Linked DNA regions of Homo sapiens: region 1 is linked to region 2. Evidence: promoter capture Hi-C in 16 types of primary human blood cells and fetal thymus (Javierre and others, 2016). All regions are on one chromosome and are shown on one strand. Each heading gives the region's core, a stretch centred on a gene start or on the middle of the fragment in contact. The rest is flanking DNA. Distances are from core to core; before and after follow the strand shown. Region 1 holds the start of LINC00557 (long intergenic non-protein coding RNA 557). Region 2 holds the start of SOX21 (SRY-box transcription factor 21).

Region 1 (6,057 bases), core at 1,106-3,605, 240 kb after region 2:
CAAAATAGAACAGCCATTTTGGAAAACAGTTTGATAGTTTCATTTAAGAAGTTATACATAAATTTATCATCTGGCCCAGCAATTGCACTCCTAGTTATCTACCAAAGAGAAATGAAAGCCTATCCACACAAAGAATTGTACGTAAATGTTCTTAGCAGGTAGTGCATAATAATCAAAATGGAAACAAACTGATGATGAATGGATAAACAAAATGTGACATATTCATAAAATGGAATATTATTCAACAATTAAAAGAAGTACTGATACATGCTACAATATTAATGAATCTCAAGAACATTATGCTAAGTGAAAGAAGCAAGATAAAAAAGACTACGTGCACATTTTAGGACTACTTTTATATGAAATGCCCCAAAAAGAAAAATCCACAGAGACAAAATGCAGGTTAGCAGTTGCATGGGGTTTGGGGAATGGGAGAAGGAGTTGACTGCAAACAGACCCAAGGGACCTTTTTGGAGTAATATAAATGTGTTCTACAACTGGATTATGGTGACATTTGCACAACTCTGAAAATTTACCAAAAATCACTCATTGTACACTTAGAATGGGTTAATTGTATGATATGTAAGTTATACCTGCTTCTAAAAATGACTATTGCAATAATATTTCATCTTCTCTATTTTGCTCACAATTTGCTTCACTGTTCATGGAATCACTCACTATCTAAAATAAGATATCCCCAGAAATTGGACACAATTTTATGCTTTGAGAGTGAAGACAGAAGAATCTGCTTGTGATGGGCTTGTCCAAGGAGCATGAGAGACAGTCAAATGTAAGGACATAACTCAGAGGCATGAATGTATCTACATCTGAAGCTACAGCCTTATCATTTGGGAGTTTGTACATCAGTCTTTCATAAATCCTACTTCACTTGGCCAGCTTGGGGCCTCCTAGCAATATTCATTGGTTTACCAAGAATATTTTTATAGGCTGCACAAAGGTAAACTTTGGCTCAGTTCTTGCCTACATCATTATAATTTCTCAATTATTGGGATAAAACTAATAAAGCTCAATTAAACCTTAAATACATCATTATACTCTGAATTTTAAAAATTGTCAAAGTTACAGCTAATGACAATAGAATTTACTGTTACTTTCTATATTTTGTTCTAATTATGAAAGCCCATTAAAACTCTAAATAAAGAAATAATTTGAAACTCATAAGCTTTGAAATCAACTCAATGAACTTACATAATTACATTCACATGACATAAAGGATTATTCGAAATACAATTGAAGAGCAAACATATGCACAGATTTAGACAATATTCATGATTTATAGCAAATTATAAAATCTTCCAGGCAACATTTTAAGGAATCCATGTTTTAAATCATTACTTGACTTGTTCTTGGCATATAAATAATTATGGAGTGCAGAGTCTTCATTGAGTTTATCCTCATCACTGGCTTGCTTTAGACATACAGGTTTCCATTTTGTAAGCCAAATTACCCCAACTTTGGTTACAAACCATCAGAGCATCATGCAGCAAACACTAACTGTCCAGTTGGTAAAACTGATGCTTTCATCTTTGAGTCTATGTACCAGCCAGAGGCAAAACTCTCTGGACATGGCCTGAAAAAGAGGATGTTTGCTTTGTCCCTGCCTCTGCTGAGGAAGGACTCTGTGAGCTGCATAGCAGAGGCAGAAGAGCAGGGTGCCCACTTCTATGGGGAGTTGATCACAACAGCGGCCTCCAGATGGGCAGAGCTGGCAGCTTTCTTGTGGCCTGTGTGAACTGTGTGATCTCATGCCTCTTTGAGCCCAAGGACAGCACTGAGGGGCTTTATTTGCACTGCACCTGCCCCGTAAGCAACAGCATTGATTTCTGCTCCCAGAAACCCTCAGTAAGTAGAACTATTCACTGACGATGCTGCCTGTTTACATCACCCGGGAAGAAGGGTCTGAGCATTTTCTGCCTCTCATGCCTATAAGTGATGGAACTTTCATCTTATCTTTATTCTCTGGTTCATTTATTTTTATAAGATACTGCACAGACAAGAAACCCACACCCAGCCTCTGGCTCTGGATCTGTGAGGAATCATACAACATATTTCTTTTGTTTTAATATAAGATAATGCATGATTAGCCTGCCCCTGCCCACTGACTCAGAGTAAATTTCTCGTAAACAAAAGAAGCAAGTCAAAGAAGCATTAAAATGACACTTTATACTCTATTGGAAGTTTCCCTTCTTTTCTTTGGTGGTTGGAGTGGGGACAGGGGAAATAGCTTTAGCTAATTAACCAAGAGTGAATCAGCTTACTCCTGACTTTTAAGTTCAGACCTTCTCAGATGGATAATTTTTTATTCCCTCTGCAAAGATTCTTTATGGGAGAACCTTCTGAAACTCACTTAATCCAAAATGTGGTGACTGAAGCTCCCTACTGTCTCTTCTGCCCAGTTGAAGTTGGATTTCTTGTGGTTCTGGACTAGCGGAACCTCTCTTCAACCTCCACCTCCTACATGGCCTTTGCGCATTTGAACACAGTCAATACACCTCTTTGTGGCAAAGGGATTCCACGTTACTGGGCTTCTGAATAATTGTTATCTGATTATTATAAAATCACAGAACTTAAGAATGAAAAGGAACCTGAGATTATCTGCTCCAACTTCTTCCCTGTGCAAGAATCTGGCTACAATTCCCCAGCAGCTCCGAACCCTACTTAGTTAGGGGATTGACTGCATCGGGGGATAAGACGGGTTGCACTAGGGTAGTCTATATTTTAAATAAATCTATAAATTAAAATGCTCTTCCTTGAGCAAAGCAGTTTGCCTCCCAGTACCTTCCACTGGGTCCCAAATAGTCTTTCTAGAAAGATACAAAACAAACTGGAGCTTTTTTTTTTTTTTCAAGACAGAGTTTCACTCTTGTTGCCCAGGCTGGAGTGCAATGGCACGGTCTCGGCTCACTACAACCACCGCCTCCCAGGTTCAAACAATTTTCCTGCTTTAGCCTCCCAAGTAGCTGGGACTACAGGCCCGCACCACCATGCCCAGCTAATTTTTGTATTTTTAATAGAGATAGGATTTCACCATGTTGGCCAGGATGGTCTCAAACTCCTGACCTCAGGTGATCCACCCGCCTCAGCCTCCCAAAGTGCTGGGATTACAGGCGTGAGCCACTGCACCCAGCCTGGAGCCACTTTCTTATAGAAAACCTTCAAATACTTGACACTTCTAGATACTCTGATTTACATACACTTAACACACTTGGCTTTTAGATCAGAAGACTGAATTATGCTTTAGTCTTTTAATGTTATGGTGTTTATTTTCACACTAACATTGCAATAAAACTACACAAATACCAAATATAACAGTTACACATGAATGATAAAGAATAAATACTTTAAATAAAGTTAAAAAAAAGAAGCACCTTCACTTGCAAAGTAGAAACTTCACAATAGTTTATATCAGTTGTCTAAATGGGATATGTCCAAAATCAACCTTTGTGGTGGAGGAAGAAAAGTATAACTTCTACTGATAGTTTTAAATCTAAAATGTAAGAAAGAAACTAAGCTTTATTAATATTTATGATATGAAGTAGTACATGTGTATACTTTATGAAAAATAAACATGCCTAGGCTAGGGCGTATGTTCAGGTTTCCTTAATTATAGGTATACACTATCAAAAAATGTCTGGAGCCCTCTGGTTTAAACTATTTTGATTAACTATTAACTCACTCATCTAAGTTGCAAATTTCTAAAAGTAAAGTAAAACATTAGTATCCTTAAACAGAGAGATATTTCATAAAGTAGTCTGAGATTATGCCAGCAAAAAAATAAAGAATGTATTTCAATGTGTTTTAAATTGCATTAACTGTTTTAATGACTCAAATAGATGTTGTTTGTCTAAATCTCCCAAAAATAAGACAAATGGAAACAAAGTTTACTTAATCTGATAAAACAGAAATAAAAAGTGTATTCTAATACCAATTTAATCTAATTAGAAATCATTGATTTAATTTTTCTCTTTTAGTGCTGTCATTGCTATTATAACAGTTGTCTGAGTCAAGATAACATTTTTTCCCCAGTGATTGCTGTCAATGATTATTCAGGGATCACTTTTATCCTTTCTGGAGCAATGGTGCATAAAGCATATATAGGATGCTTTAATCTAGGTACATAGCTCAGTAAATCGGGATATTATAAACCTATGCTATGAGGTTTTTATCTGTGATCTTGAATAAAGTGCTAATGTTTTATATCTTTCTCCATCTTTAAAATGGGGGTAGTGGCCTGAAGGTACAAAGAAGCATCTGGTTTAAAAGAAGAAAGCAATGAAAAACAACAACTTAGGAAATAAGAGAATGAACTTAAGAAGTCTGAGATAGAGACCCTATGGAGATACTAGTCAGGCACAGTTATTTGAAAAACATGTATACTCTGAATTCGCCAAAGATATTTATACACCGCAGCGGCAGTAATATTGTAGCAAATCATCCTCAAAATGGGGCAGTTCACTTTAATAGGAAGGAAAAAGAAACACATCAGAATCACATCACTTAACTATTCAGTGAATTTGCAGCACCTCTAACTTAAAGAATATCACACACATTCACTCGCACATACACAGATTACACAAAAACCAAAGAACTGAATCCGTTTTGTTTTGTTTTTTTCTGATTTTTAAAAGACAGATTGGTACTACTGGAACTGAGGAGTAAGAGGTAATAATTGCCCATCCTTGATATGCATTTTAATGAATGTTCAGCAGCTTTGTGTGTGTGTTTGAATCCATGTATTATTTCTCTCTATTTTCCTTTGATGTCTTTCACAGTTGTGATGTATACAGAGTGGCAGAAACAGCAGACAATGCAGTATTCGGAAGATGTTAACCTGCTCAAGAGTTTAGTGAGCTTTGCCGTCCTCCTTTTCCCCATTACCCCTCAAGTCTGAGTAACAAACATTACCCAGCGCCAGTGTGACTGCTGCCCGGAAATTCTCTGATGAGGCTGCCTGATTTGAATCCTAACTAGCAAAACCAAAGGACTCTAGCTCAGACTCCAAGGGAAGATGAATAACATAAATGGCCTTCTCTGCTGGAAAAAAAAATCTAATTATATGTTTATAGATTTTTTTAAAGGTTGGCATTGAATACTCAGAAATATATTAAGATCATATTTACCCTCAATAGGAACACTGAAAAGGAAATGATATTCTGAAACAAAAGGCCAACTCTAAACCTTGGGAGATGGTGACAGTTACAAAATGCAGGCCTGTGAAGGAAGTGTGTCCATAAAATGCTGACACCATCTTCTTTCTCATCAGATGGGTAGAGAGAGTTTAGAAGCTCAAAACCACCATCATCCTTTCACTGTTCCTTTCTGAGTGTCTTCTCAGTAAGTGGAAGATCCTTTTCTCACCTTGAGCTTAACATAAAATCTTTTTGAAAGTGACAATTTTTTGTTGTTGTTAGTGGTAGTTATGGATTTGCTATAAGAATACAGCAATTGCTAATATATTGCCATCAAAACAATTAATATAAATAATAATATAGGATGACAATATAGCATATAACTAACAGTGTGAACCTTGGATTCAGAAAAGCTTGGCTTTGAATCCTGGGTCCATTATTACTAGCTGTGTGCAAATTATTGAAACCCTCTCACCTCAATTTTGCATCCATAAAATGGGATCATAATAACGATTATTCAAATTCAACTTAAAGGGAAGTCTGAATTAAATGTGAAAATGTATGTATAAATCACACAAGTACTCAGTAAACAGTCACTATTAACATTGTCATAAATTTGTAGCTGTTGTTTCATAGTCACAGTGAGATGATAAGGAAAAATCCCTATATTCAAACTAGAATTGATTTCTAGTTCAATATTCTGAACAAATGTGTTATATACATTCTATCAAAATCACGAATCAGTTGTATGTTTTTAATTTGTTTGTAAATATTTGTCATGTTGTCATTTTTAGAGAATTTAAAAGGAAAAATAGTGTCTTGACTAATACCAAGCATTCCACTTACAAGCATGTTTTCCTTTTAGCACTGCCTCTTGTTGCATATGGGTCCAATGCCCTGATTTTCA
Region 2 (5,870 bases), core at 1,478-3,977:
AATGAAACTAAATACATGTTAGCCAACTTCATTCACAAACATTAGTCAAAATATATACATTTAAAAAGAAACAAAGCTAATAATTGAAGGTTCCTTTTTTCTAAAATGTGTTTTATTGCAATTTGCAAATGAATTGCAGGTGATCTAAAAAATAAGCCAATTGAGGAGGGAAATCCAAAACACATTAAACCAGCTCAACTTGGGAGAGAAATGCTAGCTGAAAATGAGAGACATCTGTTGAAACAATTCTGTGCTTTTTTTCTTCAGTTTTGCTAAATAATAAATATATAATTACCAGACAAAAAAGTCTGATTTAATCTTCGATAAAATTGCGATTCTGAAATAGTTTCGCAATTTTTAAAAGTTAACTTTGATATTCGCTCAAAATGTTTTTGAGTCTAAAGTCGACTCAAACTTAGGGCAACGAAAATAACACATTTTCCAAGCCTCAATGTTTTCACTGACATATACACATTTACAATCTTAAGGTGAACTCAGCCATAAGGGAAAATAGGAGCAGTGCCTTTTTCCTTTTTTGTAAACTGTGTCAGAAATCCAAGCGAGTGGACTCAGGGAGACTTCTAGTAGTTTGTTGTTGTTGTTTGTTTAGGAAGAAAATCCAATTGACAACTTTCATCTCACAAATATTTCTTGTTTGCGTTTCTTGCCCTTGAGAAAGAGCTCTTGCTCTGATTTGCAAATGGCGTGATAAACAAAAGAAACCGTGATCATCTCACACAAAAGGCCAGATTCGAGCCGGTCACTGGTCAAGAATGGATCTGGTTGGGAGTTCTGCTTGAGAGAACAGAGATCTGCAAAGTTCAAATAGTACAAACAGGGAGGCGAGGCTGCTCAGAGCCATCCCACTCCCAGAAACGAATGACACAAGCAGCTTTTCCCGTGTGCCAGCCATTTCAGACCTCACATTTGAACAGCGTGCATGCAACACGGACCGGGAGGGGGTTGGGGGTTGGGGGGCTGAGGGGCGAGGAAGAAGAATGAGAAACAAAAACAAAACCGACCATGAAACTTCCAACAAAACTGGAAAGGCCAACATGTCAAAAAGTTACTCCTCCACCTCCGTGGGTCAAAACGCAACAGGTTCCGAAGTGCAAAGCAAACGCCAACTGCTGCCGCACACAACCGCCTGCTTTCGAGTTGGCTGCCGAAGTGCGGGTCTGAAATGATCCTGCGAATTCACAGGCCTGCTCGCCCGCGCCCTTGCGCGCTTGGCCACTCCTGCCCCGCCTGGCCTCTCTGCCTCTACCTGGCACCTATACATTCTATGTACATACAAACCGGGCCCCCGGTCGCGGGAGGGCGCACGGGGAGGCCGCAGCGCTCGTACCTATACATATGTACACGTGTGCACACCGGTCCTCGCGAGGCGGCCCCGCGGGGTCATAGCGCGGCAGCGTAGGCCGCGGGGTAGGGGTCCAGCTGGGGCTTGCCCATGCCCGGCAGCAGGATGTAGGCGAGCGGCGGCTGCAGCCCGGGGCTGGGCCACGCGCTGCAGTTGCACGGGATCATGTAGCCCGGGTTGCCCGGGCTGGGGTGCGAGTGCGTGTGCCCCCCGGCGGCGGCGGCCGCCGCTGCAGCCGCCGCCGCCGCGCCGTGGAAGGCGCCCGCGCCCGCGGTCGGGTAGCCCAGCGACGACGCGTACGGGAGGCCGGACGAGGACGACGAGATCTCTGCCATTTTGGAGCCCAGGTCGAGCAGCGAGTAGGGGCTGCCCGCGGCGGCGGCGGCGGCGGCAGCGGCGGCGGCAGCGGCCGACTGCGGGAAGAAGACGCGTGCGGCGGCAGCGGCGGCGGCCGCGGCCGCCTTCTCGGGATTGGCGAGCAGCGACTCAGGCACCAGGCCGCCGCCCGCCCCCGCGTGCAGCCCGGCGCCCGCCTTGAGCGCAGGGTGCTCGGCGTCCGCCACGCCGCCCAGGCCGTAGGGCACCGGGAAGGCGAACTTGTCCTTCTTGAGCAGCGTCTTGGGCTTGCGCCGCGGCCGGTACTTGTAGTCGGGGTGCTCCTTCATGTGCATGGCGCGTAGACGCTTGGCCTCGTCGATGAACGGCCGCTTCTCCGACTCTGTGAGCAGTTTCCACTCGGCGCCCAAGCGCTTGCTGATCTCCGAGTTGTGCATCTTGGGGTTCTCCTGGGCCATCTTGCGCCGCTGAGCCCGCGACCACACCATGAAGGCGTTCATGGGCCGCTTGACGTGGTCCACCGGCTTGGACATGCTCTCGCCCTGCCGCGGCTGCAGCCCGCCGCCTCCCGGGCCCTCGCCCTCGGCCCGGAGGAAATCAATGTTGGCTGCCCGCGGAGACCCGCTCGGCCGGCCGGGGCTCGTCGCGCCCCGGCGTCGCTCCCGCCCCGGAGGAGGGGGCTGGGGGACCAGCCCAGGGCCACGCCGCGCCCCGGGCCGCCTTAGTGTCTCCGGCCGAGCGCTCGAGCAGGTTGTCTCTGGGACACTCTAACTTCTCGGCGGTGCCCCCTCCCCGCGGCGGCAGTTTGCCCTTTACGTTCTTTGGGTCCTTCGTCTGCAGTGGCGTTTGCTGGTGAGCTCCCCGCAGGTAGCGGCGGCCGGGCAGAGCGCTCCTCCTCCTCGGTCGTTCTCTCTTAAATGCAAAGCGTCCCCAAAAGTTGCGTCGCGGAGACTCCTCGAAGTTGAGCCGAGGAGCCCGCCGCCGCGTGCTGCCAAGTGCCAAAGGGGGCTCTCAGCGGCTGGAGTGTTTGGGTTCTCCTCGGTGACTTTCTCATTTGACAGAAGCAGATGGGGGTGGGGAAGGCGGGGAGGTGGCCCTGGAGGAGGAAGAGGAGGGGGAGGCGGAGGAGTGTCCAGGCGTGCCACGAGAACGCAGAGCGCAGCAATGGATATAAATACAAATACAGCAGCACCAGCCTGTCTTCTTGGCTCCGGGCAGGGTGCGCCGATGGGAAACCCCCAATCGGCTGGGTGATTTTTTTTTTTTGGAGGGGGGAGCTGTCCCCCGCAGCACCTGCCTCTCGAGTCTTCCTCTCCCGCTGCTGGACTGACGGGTGGGGCGAGGAAGGAGGGTGGATGAGGCTTGAGCAAGCGTTGGTCGCCCGGCCTCAGAGGAAGTTCTCCCGGCTCGCCGAGGAGCCGCGTCCGGCCGTCCCCTGGGCCATGCCGGCTCTGTTCGCTCCGAGCCCCTTCAGGCGCGCCTGCCGACTTAGGGCTCCCGGAGCTCGCCGGCCGCGGAGGGCAGCGCAGCCTCCACGCGGCGCCGCAGGCCTGGCACCGGCCGCGTCCCCGCCTCGCTCTTCTCGGCAGCCGCCTGGCACTTGCAACTAACTTCGCCCAAGTTTCCTGCGCCGCGGCGCCCCTCTCGGCGCGCTCCTGGGAGCGTGCGCCCGCGAGTCCGCCGCGCCCGGGGCCCCTCTGTCCTCGCTGCTGTGGCCAGAGCCGAGCCGGCGCAGGGGCGGAGGTGCTGCAGGAGAGTTAAGGAAAACGGGCCATCACCTCAGTTCGCAGGTCCGCGCTGTGGCACCTCCCGCTCTCCCCACTCCCGCGGCGCAGGGGGCCCCTTCCCAGCCCAGGCCGCCCTCTGCACCGGCTCAGGTGAGTGTGGCTACCTGCATGTGTGCGCGCCCGGAGCCGGCACTGGGTGTGCATGTCCAGCCGCGGCTGTGTGTGTATATCTGGGGGCCTGCGGAGGAGGTGGAGCCCAGGACTCGGGGAGGGAGGAGGGATCAGCGGAGCCGCCTCCCGCTCCCACACCCCCAGGACCTCGAATTAACAGATCCCCTCCGCCCCCCGCCCCCTCCCAATCCTCCTCCTCCCACTCCTTTTCACTTGAGAGCAGGTTTAGGCGAGTGGAGAGTCCGGAGCGCGCCGGGGAGTCTGCGCCCTGTTTGGCGTTGGCAAACCCTGGTGTCATCCCGGCTACCCAGGCCGGCCTGGCGTGCAGCTGCCCTGGTTGTGGCCCTGGAATCCTCGCCGGGAGGAAGAAGGCGGCGGGCACGAGTAGGAGAGCCTCTCCAGCTACGGAGGAAGAGGGTTAAACCTGGAGAAGGGGAGACTCACCCTTGAAAATGTTTGAGACTGTTCCTAGCAAGAAAGTGCTCATTTTCCTTGGAGGTCCAGGTGTTGCTTGCAACAGAAACAGAGGCTTCTCGCATTTTCTTGCACTGGCGATGCACCTAGTCAGAGGTAGTGGAGTGAAAAATAACTCTGGAGGGAATAAGGACATTCTTGGCAACCTTTCCAAAAAAGAGCTAGCCCAGACTGAGAGTATGCATCCTTGACTGACTATTCAGCTCTTTAAAAATTCTGTGTTGTTTGTCTTTTGTTGTAATCTTGGTCGCCAGAACCATCTATATACTGATCTCTTTAAGGTACAGTTAACTTACAGTGTCTCACTTACATGCGCTGCTGAGGTGAAGGTGTTTAAAATCAATAAGTGTAAGTAGTTTCCCTGGAAGAGAGAAGTAAAACGTACCAATCACTCAGTGCTGGAATATTTTTATGCTAAGCATAATTTCCTTCTTTAGTAGTTAGAGCAGTTTTTTAAAAAAAATAGTTAACACGATGCAGAAGTCAAACAGCATGATTCTGTTTCCGTATTTTCCTCACTTTTTGGTATGCTGCGGCACATTTAGAACATGATCTGTCTGGAGGTTTTATTCACATGGTGGCCTGCCCTTCAGGGAGAACTTGCTTGCCTTCTTTCTTTGGCAGTTTGGATTTGACCTAGCCCTGTGGTATGTGCAAGTAGGAACATCTACAAACGGTTAACTCTTTAAGTCTTCCTACGATTTATGTTCAGTTCATTCACACACACACACACACACACACACACACACACACAAAAGCTTTGATTGTAATTATGAACGTGAATTAAAACTGTTTCAGGCCATCAGATTTATGTAAAAGTTAGGCTTGTTTTGTTCATTTTAATAAAAGAATAGTGACTTAAAAATTACAGTCGTGATAACAAAACTGTGAACAGCAGTGGCATCTATGTGGGTTTTTGTTTTTCTGAAGATGTCGTATTGACAAGCTTATTTTGTATCGGTTATGCCCTTGCATTGTTAAAATAATTGGACTGATTTCTCCAGAACCATATTCCTTTACAGGCTCTGTAAAGACACTCTTGTCATTCACAGACTCTGGCTGGAGCAATGGGAAAACACTAGCATGTGTAATTACATAGACTGGAATATTAAATATACTGTTTTGTGATGATAAACTACAAAATTATCGTCCCTGAGCTTTTCACCTACTGACTTATAGGTTTGAGACAAAAATACTATACACTGGAACATAAAGAACATATGTATATATAGGCCACAAAACATGAAATCTGTTATTCACTAAATATTGTGAATAAAGTTAAATTTAATCGTGAAAATTATTTTGACACATAAAAAGGGAGAAGGATTGTGAAAATGTGTTTTATATTAGTGAGTTAAGTGATTTTATACTATTCAAATTTAAGTGTAAAAATCTACTGCAATAAATTATTACATTAGAAATGTTTGTATATATGATTGAAATGTATGCTTACATGTGCAATGTCTTATAGGAATAATATATGTAAGGTTCCTTGGCTATAGTTTTTTCCAGTATACATTTACAATATTGTCTGTCTAGTGATATTAAATGAGCCAAATTTGAACACTCTCAAGTCCAAGAATGTTGAACTGTGGGAAACAAAGGTGTCATAAGAAGAAAATGACTATTTGTGTGCTTGTCTATTCACCAAATGAAACTTCCCACATTTCAAAATAGGAAAGATTTGGTTTTAGTTCTTGGCTTCTAGGGGATCAATATTCTTGGCCTAACCCTTCACAACCAAAGAAAGAGCCCTCATAATCGGCCATTCATTAAAGAAAGGCAATGTGGCATTGCTG

Evidence for each region. The method cuts DNA at HindIII sites, captures the fragments that hold promoters and counts their contacts. A CHiCAGO score of 5 or more calls a contact.
Region 1: a fragment that was not itself captured here is called in contact with the fragment with the promoter of SOX21 in region 2 in 2 of 17 cell types (megakaryocytes and endothelial precursors); the score reaches 6.6 in megakaryocytes.

Annotation. Positions count from the first base shown.
Region 1 is chr13:94,954,881-94,960,937 of GRCh38, forward strand. LINC00557 (long intergenic non-protein coding RNA 557) reads left to right here and starts at 5,161. Exons shown (of 1, transcript NR_047487.1): 1 at 5,161-6,057. The HindIII fragment of the contact is 2,349 bases long and covers 1,182-3,530 here.
Region 2 is chr13:94,709,818-94,715,687 of GRCh38, forward strand. It overlaps SOX21 (SRY-box transcription factor 21), which reads right to left and starts at 2,728. Exons shown (of 1, transcript NM_007084.4): 1 at 1-2,728. The coding sequence starts at 2,232. The coding sequence ends at 1,402. SOX21-AS1 (SOX21 antisense RNA 1) reads left to right here and starts at 2,899. Exons shown (of 2, transcript NR_046514.1): 1 at 2,899-3,576; 2 at 3,821-5,870. It overlaps LOC112268114 (a long non-coding RNA gene), which reads right to left and starts at 3,626. Exons shown (of 2, transcript NR_158368.1): 1 at 3,591-3,626; 2 at 2,903-3,445. RefSeq lists an enhancer at 3,452-3,953. The HindIII fragment of the contact is 9,809 bases long and covers 1-4,827 here.